Regions from separate parts of the Homo sapiens genome. Here region 1 is linked to region 2. Evidence: promoter capture Hi-C in human tissues and cell types (Jung and others, 2019). All regions are on one chromosome and are shown on one strand. Each heading gives the region's core, a stretch centred on a gene start or on the middle of the fragment in contact. The rest is flanking DNA. Distances are from core to core; before and after follow the strand shown. Region 1 overlaps YTHDF1 (YTH N6-methyladenosine RNA binding protein F1). Region 2 holds the start of BIRC7 (baculoviral IAP repeat containing 7).

What was found. Contacts are between HindIII fragments. The study calls those that stand out against the background at their distance.
Region 1: a contact is called between a fragment that was not itself captured here and the fragment with the promoter of BIRC7 in region 2, in 2 of the 25 tissues and cell types used here (H1 embryonic stem cells and ovary).

What each region holds. Positions count from the first base shown.
Region 1 is chr20:63,198,551-63,203,571 of GRCh38, reverse strand. It overlaps YTHDF1 (YTH N6-methyladenosine RNA binding protein F1), which reads left to right. Exons shown (of 5, transcript NM_017798.4): 4 at 1-1,285. Among named protein-coding and RNA genes, the nearest start is that of YTHDF1, 15 kb to the left of the region's middle. RefSeq lists enhancers at 3,050-3,651, 3,652-4,251. The HindIII fragment of the contact is 5,570 bases long and covers 1-4,969 here.
Region 2 is chr20:63,234,647-63,237,944 of GRCh38, reverse strand. It overlaps BIRC7 (baculoviral IAP repeat containing 7), which reads right to left and starts at 2,040. Exons shown (of 7, transcript NM_139317.3): 1 at 1,500-2,040; 2 at 1-42. The coding sequence starts at 1,848. RefSeq lists enhancers at 2,156-2,275, 2,623-3,224. The HindIII fragment of the contact is 26,367 bases long and covers 1-3,298 here.

The DNA.
Region 1 (5,021 bases), core at 935-3,434, 35 kb after region 2:
CCCTGAAAACCCTGCGTTCTCAGCATGGGGGACAAGTGGGTCTCAAGGTCAGCAGACCCAGAGCTCCGCGTATGGGAGCAGCTACACCTACCCCCCGAGCTCCCTGGGTGGCACGGTGGTTGATGGGCAGCCAGGCTTTCACAGCGACACCCTCAGCAAGGCCCCCGGGATGAACAGCCTGGAGCAGGGCATGGTTGGCCTGAAGATTGGGGACGTCAGCTCCTCCGCCGTCAAGACGGTGGGCTCTGTCGTCAGCAGCGTGGCACTGACTGGTGTCCTTTCTGGCAACGGTGGGACAAATGTGAACATGCCAGTTTCAAAGCCGACCTCGTGGGCTGCCATTGCCAGCAAGCCTGCAAAACCACAGCCTAAAATGAAAACAAAGAGCGGGCCTGTCATGGGGGGTGGGCTGCCCCCTCCACCCATAAAGCATAACATGGACATTGGCACCTGGGATAACAAGGGGCCTGTGCCGAAGGCCCCAGTCCCCCAGCAGGCACCCTCTCCACAGGCTGCCCCACAGCCCCAGCAGGTGGCTCAGCCTCTCCCAGCACAGCCCCCAGCTTTGGCTCAACCGCAGTATCAGAGCCCTCAGCAGCCACCCCAGACCCGCTGGGTTGCCCCACGCAACAGAAACGCGGCGTTTGGGCAGAGCGGAGGGGCTGGCAGCGATAGCAACTCTCCTGGAAACGTCCAGCCTAATTCTGCCCCCAGCGTCGAATCCCACCCCGTCCTTGAAAAACTGAAGGCTGCTCACAGCTACAACCCGAAAGAGTTTGAGTGGAATCTGAAAAGCGGGCGTGTGTTCATCATCAAGAGCTACTCTGAGGACGACATCCACCGCTCCATTAAGTACTCCATCTGGTGTAGCACAGAGCACGGCAACAAGCGCCTGGACAGCGCCTTCCGCTGCATGAGCAGCAAGGGGCCCGTCTACCTGCTCTTCAGCGTCAATGGGAGTGGGCATTTTTGTGGGGTGGCCGAGATGAAGTCCCCCGTGGACTACGGCACCAGTGCCGGGGTCTGGTCTCAGGACAAGTGGAAGGGGAAGTTTGATGTCCAGTGGATTTTTGTTAAGGATGTACCCAATAACCAGCTCCGGCACATCAGGCTGGAGAATAACGACAACAAACCGGTCACAAACTCCCGGGACACCCAGGAGGTGCCCTTAGAAAAAGCCAAGCAAGTGCTGAAAATTATCAGTTCCTACAAGCACACAACCTCCATCTTCGACGACTTTGCTCACTACGAGAAGCGCCAGGAGGAGGAGGAGGTGGTGCGCAAGGTGAGGCTGGGTGTTGCAGGCAACTGCCATGCAGATGTGTCCTTGGTGCCGTACTTAGACCAGGTGGCCCGGTGGTGAGCAGATGCGGCAGGTCCGCCGAGCTGAGTCTCGTGACAGGCAGCTCCCAGTTGGCCGCAGGTGGGCGGGCCCAGGTCCTGGCAGCCTCGTGGGCTTTCCCTGCGGAGAGTACTGCTAGTAACCAGTGATGGTATTTGGGTAGATGTCACCGAACGACTTTGATCACTTTCCAATTATAATTGAATAATTGGGACCACAGTGTACACATTCTGTTTTTCTGTTACAAAGAATTTGAGGGTAACTTTCTCCTCTCCTTTTTGAATTGTGATACTTTCTGGAACAGTGCTTCCCAGCCTCCGTCCATGAGGAACACTTAGGTGATATTCACGAAGCACTGCGGTGGGCACGTAGGGCATCGAGACCCCACCTGGCCAAGGGCCCTTGCTTCCCAGGGCACTGTCCCTCAGTAGTTGGGAATCTCTGGTCTTTGATCTGGAGGTCGTTGCTTTATTTTTCTTTTAAAAACCCAGTATCCTGCAGTTTTTGGAAACAAACTCACTCCATCTAGGTCGTAAAGAAAATGGTGGTGGTGGGGTAGGTTTGGAATCCAGACATTTTATAATGACAAATATGGATCCTATATCAAAAATTCATTGACTGGGCCTTTTTGAGACAGTCCTGATTTCCTGGGATACTTGTAGCCAAACTCCTGAGTCTGTGCTGTCATGTGATGTCTGACGGGATTGAGTGTGTTTGCTCTTCAGAAGGGCTCAGATGCCCGTAAACTGGCACCAGCAATGGGAAAATGATGATGCTGACATACTTCATAATGCTTCCTTTATTCGAGAGAGTTCATCCTGAGATTCTCTCCTGCTTTTTAAAAAATATCCCTTCCTGAAATGTCAGTTGATAATAGATGGGTTTTCAGTGTTTTTTTCAGTTCTCTATGTTAAAGGAATTATTCACCTGTGAGCACCAAGTGTCCTAATGTATTTTGGGCAGAAAGGCGTGTACATGGCATATATAGGGATGTATAGAGTAGAGCCGCCTGCACTGTCTGCAGTCTTACATTATGCAAGTCCTGAACAACTTGGGGCTTGTAGAACTTTGGAAAAGTATCAGTCCCTCTCTTTTGTGAGAAAAGAAGTGGATGTCATTTATTTCCAGTTACTGAATTCTGAATTAGTTACTGAAATTCTGTGTTTTAGGTCTTTTTTTTTTTTTTAAATGGAGTTTTGCTCTGTTGCCCAGGCTGGAGTGCAGTGGCGCAATCTCGGCTCACTGCAACCTCCACCTCCTGGGTTCGAGTGATTGTCCTGCCTTAGCCTTCCAGGTAGCTGGGATTACAGACAATAGCTCGGATTACAGACTTTTAGGTATAAAATGAATACTGAATTGCTAAAGTTGCAGGGATAATTGCTAATGAAGCTTTAGGTCCTTAGCTGGCTAAACTGGAAGCTGGCTGTGTGTGTGTGCGCGCACAGTTTTTCTTCTTAAATACCGTAATACTTGGGTTTTCATAAAGTGTGCGGACTCCTGACCTGGTTGGTGTTTTTAAAACTCTAGTGTCCTACAACTTGCATTATAAAAACTTGATCTAGATAACTGCTTTTGTGTGTCGGGTTATGGGTTAAGCATCTTGGTAAGCGGCCTGCAGGGTCTGTGGGCATCTGCCTGCAGGCAAGATCCAAGTGTTCCTCAAACCACTGGGTGCTCCAAGGCGAGTCCAACAGAGCCGCTGGTGGAGCATCATTGGAAGGAACTTGGTAACCCTCCCCTAAACTGTTAGCCAAGCTGGAGAACTCTGGGCCCATATGGGTCAGTGTTAACATTAATTCATTTTATTGAAAGTGACAAATGAGAACCTGGTTTGTTAATGTTTGGTGGAATTTCAAATAGCTTTTTTTTTTTTGAGCCAATCTCACCGTCAGCCAGGCTGGAGTGCAGTAGTGCAATTTTGGCTCACTGCAACCTCAACCTCCGAGGTTCAGGCCATTTTCCTGCCTCAGCCTCCCAAGTAGCTGGGATCATAGGCGCCCACCACTGCACCCAGCTAAATTTTGTATTTTTAGTAGAGATAGGGTTTCACCATGTTGGCCAGGCTGGTCTCGATCTCTTGACCTCAAGTGATCTGCCCACCTCAGCCTCCCAAAGTGCTGGGATTACAGGTGTGAGCCACCGTGCCCCGCCTCAAATAGCTTTTTGTTTTTGTTTTTGAGACAGGTCTTTCTCCGTCTGCCGGGCTGGAGTGCAGTGACTTAATCACAGCTTGTTGTAGCCTTGACCTCCTGGGCTCAAGCGGTCTTCCTGCCTCAGCCTCCTGAGTAGCTACAGGCGTGCACCACCACGCCTGGCTAATTTTTGTATTTTTTTGTAGAATCAGTGTCTTGCTATGTTGCCCAGGCTGGTCTTGAACTCCTGGGCTCAAACAGTCTTCCCACCTTGGCTTCACAAAGTGCTGGGATTATAGGAATGAGCCACTGTGCCCGGCGTCAAATATCTTTTAAGCTTATTGGGCAGTGTAGAGAAATGGAAGTGGTCCTTGAGGAGGTCCCCAGACTGGACTTCGCTGCTGGCTCTCCCTGCCTGCGAAGGTGCTCTAGGCCTTGTGCTTAACGGGCTGGGCTAGTGGCTCATCCAGGATTGGAGTCTTAGGTGTCTTGAGGCTGAGACTCTGGGTGTCTAATGCTTTCTCCCTCTGGGTTTCCCATGAAGAGTCAGTGCAGTTTTGTTTTGTTTTTTTTTTTTTTAAGACAGAATCTTGCACTGTTGCCCAGTCTGGAGTGTAGTGGTGTGATCTCGGCTCACTGCAAGCTCTGCCTCCTGGGTTCACACAATTCTCCTGCCTCAGCCTCCCGGGTAGCTGGGACTACAGGCCCTTGCCACCACGCCCAGCGAATTTTTTGTGCTTTTAGTAGAGATGGGGTTTCACCGTGTTAGCCAGGATGGTCTCGATCTCCTGACCTCGTGATCCGCCCGCTTTGGCCTCCCAAAGTGCTGGGATTACAGGCGTGAGCCACTGCGCCCGGCCGAGTCAGTGCAGTTTTAAGAACAAAGTAGTGTGCCGAGGAGAGGGTTGTGCGCCTGTGCTGGTAGAGCCCCCGGGCGGTTTTCTCAAGGTTCTCTCAGGACTTCGAAGAACAGACCCACCTTTTCTTTATCATTTAGAGTTTGGCCCCATTGCTGTAAAGGTCATAAACAAGTTGAGTGTTGAGAAAGTGAAGTAGAGTTAGCATTTTGCAAGATTGCTGTCCAGCTATAAATTTAGAAACATACTGATTTCTTAGGATGGCAGTAGCTTTTATGGCAGCAGAGTCAGACCAAGTCCTGGGTTGATACATTTTTTGGTTTTAAAAAAACCTAGAAACGGCCACTTCTTAGCTTAAAACAGTGAAAGTGGTGAGCGTCCCACACTGTGAGCATTGCTTAGTTCCTCAGACTGACTGTCCTTGCCCTGGCGGCAGGTGCCCCTGACCTGACCCCACTTCGACCTCCAGGCCGGCTCAGCAGAGTGGCTCTTTGACTTTGGAAATTAAGAAAGAGCATAGAGAATCTTAGGCCATAAGCATTTCCTGGATGCTTGTTGAGCATTCCTCAAAAGAACGAGCTGTGCTTCGTCATTTTTTTTTTTTTTGAGAAATTTTATGAGGAATAGTATTTTTTAAAGAGCACATAGTAAACTTTGTAGCTGTTTATAAGGGCTGAAGGGAGATGGGGA
Region 2 (3,298 bases), core at 791-3,290:
GGCCCCCATAGCAGAAGAAGCACCTCACCTTGTCCTGATGGCCTGGGGTGCGGAGAGATGCTGGCCCCAGCCAAGTCCCACCCAGTCCCCGGGCCCCCGGTGTGTCCTTCCAAGGCTATGAGAGCTTCAGCTGGAGGGGAGCTCCCAGGTGGCAAGAAGGAGGAGGGGGTGGGCAGGGGGCTTGGTGGGGGATGTCACTTGTACCTCATTAGCATCAAAGGTGAAAAGGGGACAAGGGTGACTGGGGTGCCGGCCAGGATGGGCGAGAATGTTCAGGAAAGGACTGAGCTGGCATTTGCATTGTTCCCAGAGTGAGCAGTGGGGGCCCCCCAGGGCTTGGTACATCTATAGCCCTGGGGCTTCAGGAGCCAGAAGGGCCCCTCCCCAGGTCTCTGCTTCCCCAAGATGGATTCCCAGTGAGAAGAAGAAGGGAGGCTGCCCTAGAAGGCCAGTCTGGGGCCAGGCTTGCTTTTAGGAACTCATGCCTCCCTTTGGGGGTGGGGGACCCGTCATCTCTCTACCTCCTGGCGACCCCGTCCCCTCATCGGCATCCATGCGATACGTCACCTGCCACTGACATCACAGGTTTGGGCTGCATCGGGCACTGGACCTCTACCAGCCCCAAAGACCCCGGCTCTGCACCTGCCATGCCTCTTGCCTGGCCTTTGCCTCCTGAGCCTTGGACTTCCAGGGAGGTGGGTGAGCTGGGCCTGCCCCTTCACGCCACGGCTTCTGACTGTCCCAGCCACTGTCCCCCCGACCAGCTGTCTTAAGTTGGTCCAGCCTTACCAGGATGGTGCCCCGCCAGAGCCCACTGCTGACAATGACCATGGCTGTGCCAGTATTTGTAAAGCCCTCGGTGGGCCCTGCTGCCCTGTCCTTCAGCCAGGAAGTGGCAGAGCTGGGACCTGAACTCAGGTCTGACCACATGGTCTGCAGCTGTAGGGCAGAGGAGCAGGCCCGGGCCAAGACTAGGATAGGTACTCCGGGGACTTGATTCAGTTGGGGAAGACCAGACAGTAGCTGCAGGTTGGGGCCTGGAGAAATTCCCCACAGGCTGAGCATCCAGGACCTTCTGGCTGACCACTGCCTGCCTTGGTCACCCTGATCCTGTTCTTTAAACATCTCCTCTCCCTGTGCAGAACAGCAGCGGGGAAGGTGAGGGCCCCAGGCAATGTCAGCCCCACCCACTTCTATCACAAAGGGGTACTTGTGCACCAAGCTGGCGGCCTCCACAGCTGAGACCCTCAGACTGTGGCCAGAGGCAGCCCCTCCTCACATCCCACGGTCTGAAACACTCAGCCAGCAGAGACTCCGGGGGAGGGTGTCAGGCACGAGCCCATGGGCACTGGAGGGGCTTGCAGGACCACTGCTCCGTCATCAGGCCAGACCCTTCCTGTTGGGGGATGGATGCTACGGAGGAGGCAGAGCCCTGGGCTGGAAGGGTCCAGAATCGTGCCCAGGCCCACGGCAGGAAGGCCCCCCCGCCCGGGACTGACCTGTGTGGAAGAAGCCGGCAGCAGCCAGCAGCTCGGGTGGCACCTCAGCAGTCAGCGGCCAGTCATAGAAGGAGGCCAGACGCAACTCCTCAGAGCCCATGCCGGGGAAGGCAGGCCCCCTGGACAAGGTGGCCCCGGCGCCCTCCTCCTCTTCCTCCTCTGTCAGGGGCCGCAGCTGGCCCAGGATCTGCCCATCCACGTGGTCCCAGGCTCTGCAGGTGTCCAGGCCTAGGACAGGGCTGCCCAGAGAGCGGGGTCCACAGCGCTCCTGCGTGGGACCATCACCGGCTGCCCAGTGGCTCGGCTGTGGTCCACGGTGCAGGCACTTGGCACTGTCTTTAGGTCCCATGGAGGGAACACTGGCTCTGACCAGGTTTGCAGCAGAAATGGGGGCTGATGGCCAATCTCAGAATATGCCCAGCTGGCCCTTCTGGAGCTCCTGACCCCCGGGGCCCACCCTGGGGACAGCAGGGATAGGCACAGGCCTGCCACCAGACACCCTGGGAGGGGAGTATCCCAGGGCCCACAGCTTTCTGGAAGTGGCCAGGGTGGCCTCTGGGGTCACATGCTCTGTGCAGCGGGGGCGTGTCACGGGGCCCCTGGCAGGGTTGCGGATGCCGCTGACTGCACGTGGGCAGGCCACGTCTCTCTGAACAAGACGGGAAGGAACTGAGCATGGAGACCCCTCCCCAGGCTGGTGTCTGCCCCAGGGCTGTGGGGGAGGGGTTGGGGAGCTGGAGATGATGGCTCCAAGGTCAGGCGCCCAGGGCAGCCTCCGGAAGCAGAGAAGGCTCAAGGAAGGACATGTGAGCTGTGCTGCCTGTGCAGGCAGGGGCCGTGACCTCCCACCTTGCGGGGGTGACTCTAGCCTCACAGGGGCCTAGGGCTGCGTCACGCAGAGCAGGGAGGCAGGTCACCCGGCTGTTCTCTGAAACATCCCTCTGCCCCAAGGGGCCTCTGCAGGTCTGGGAGCAGCTCTTGTCCTCAGGCCAGGAAGATCAGAGCAAAAAGAAGGGCCCGAGCTGCCCTCACCTCCCGCTCCCCCTTCCCCCATCTCCCTCCACCTCCCTCCATACCAGCCTCCCCAGGTAGCCAAGGGAGAGGCTCTGATGCCCCCAAAAGAGGAGTACTCAGTGTTGGCACTGGAATCGGAGTTCCTGAGGTCTGCTGTGACCCTGGCTGCCGGTCCAAGCTCCACACTGTGCCACACTGCCAAACCCCACAGTGAGGGAACAGGGAGGAGGACTTAACCCCAGAGAAGCCAGGGGCAGAACAGGAACCCCAGGGACACCTGGGCGGGACAAAAAGGACAGCTGGATGGGGCCCAGACTTCGACACCCCCCAACCCCCGACTGAGCCCTCAACCCCAGCAAACCCAGCTCATCCACCCGGCTGGCCCTAAAAGCCCCCTGTCATCCTTCAGCCACTCTCCCCTGCTGTTCCGTCCTGGATGGGAGCGTGCAGGCTCACAGAGTTTGGAAGAATAAAGAGGAGTCGCACGCTGCAGGGCCGCTGGTTGCCACGGGGAGCGCAGGTGGGCAGGAGAGGGTTAGCTGCAGTGAAAACCGTCCCTGAGCTCACCTGGAAGCCTGGCCCGTTCTCTTCCCACTGCTGAGCCGCATAGACCCAGCTGCTGCCCACCACACTTTCACACCTGCCCCCCGACCCCCACTCACGGCGGGGGCTGGGGCTGCACCCGCCCTCCCAGGAGGCCTCTGGTGACTGTTCTGGTCATACTCAGGCCAGTGTTGCCAGGCCCCAGCGAGACCCCCAACCCTTTCCTATGCAAGGCCCAGAGC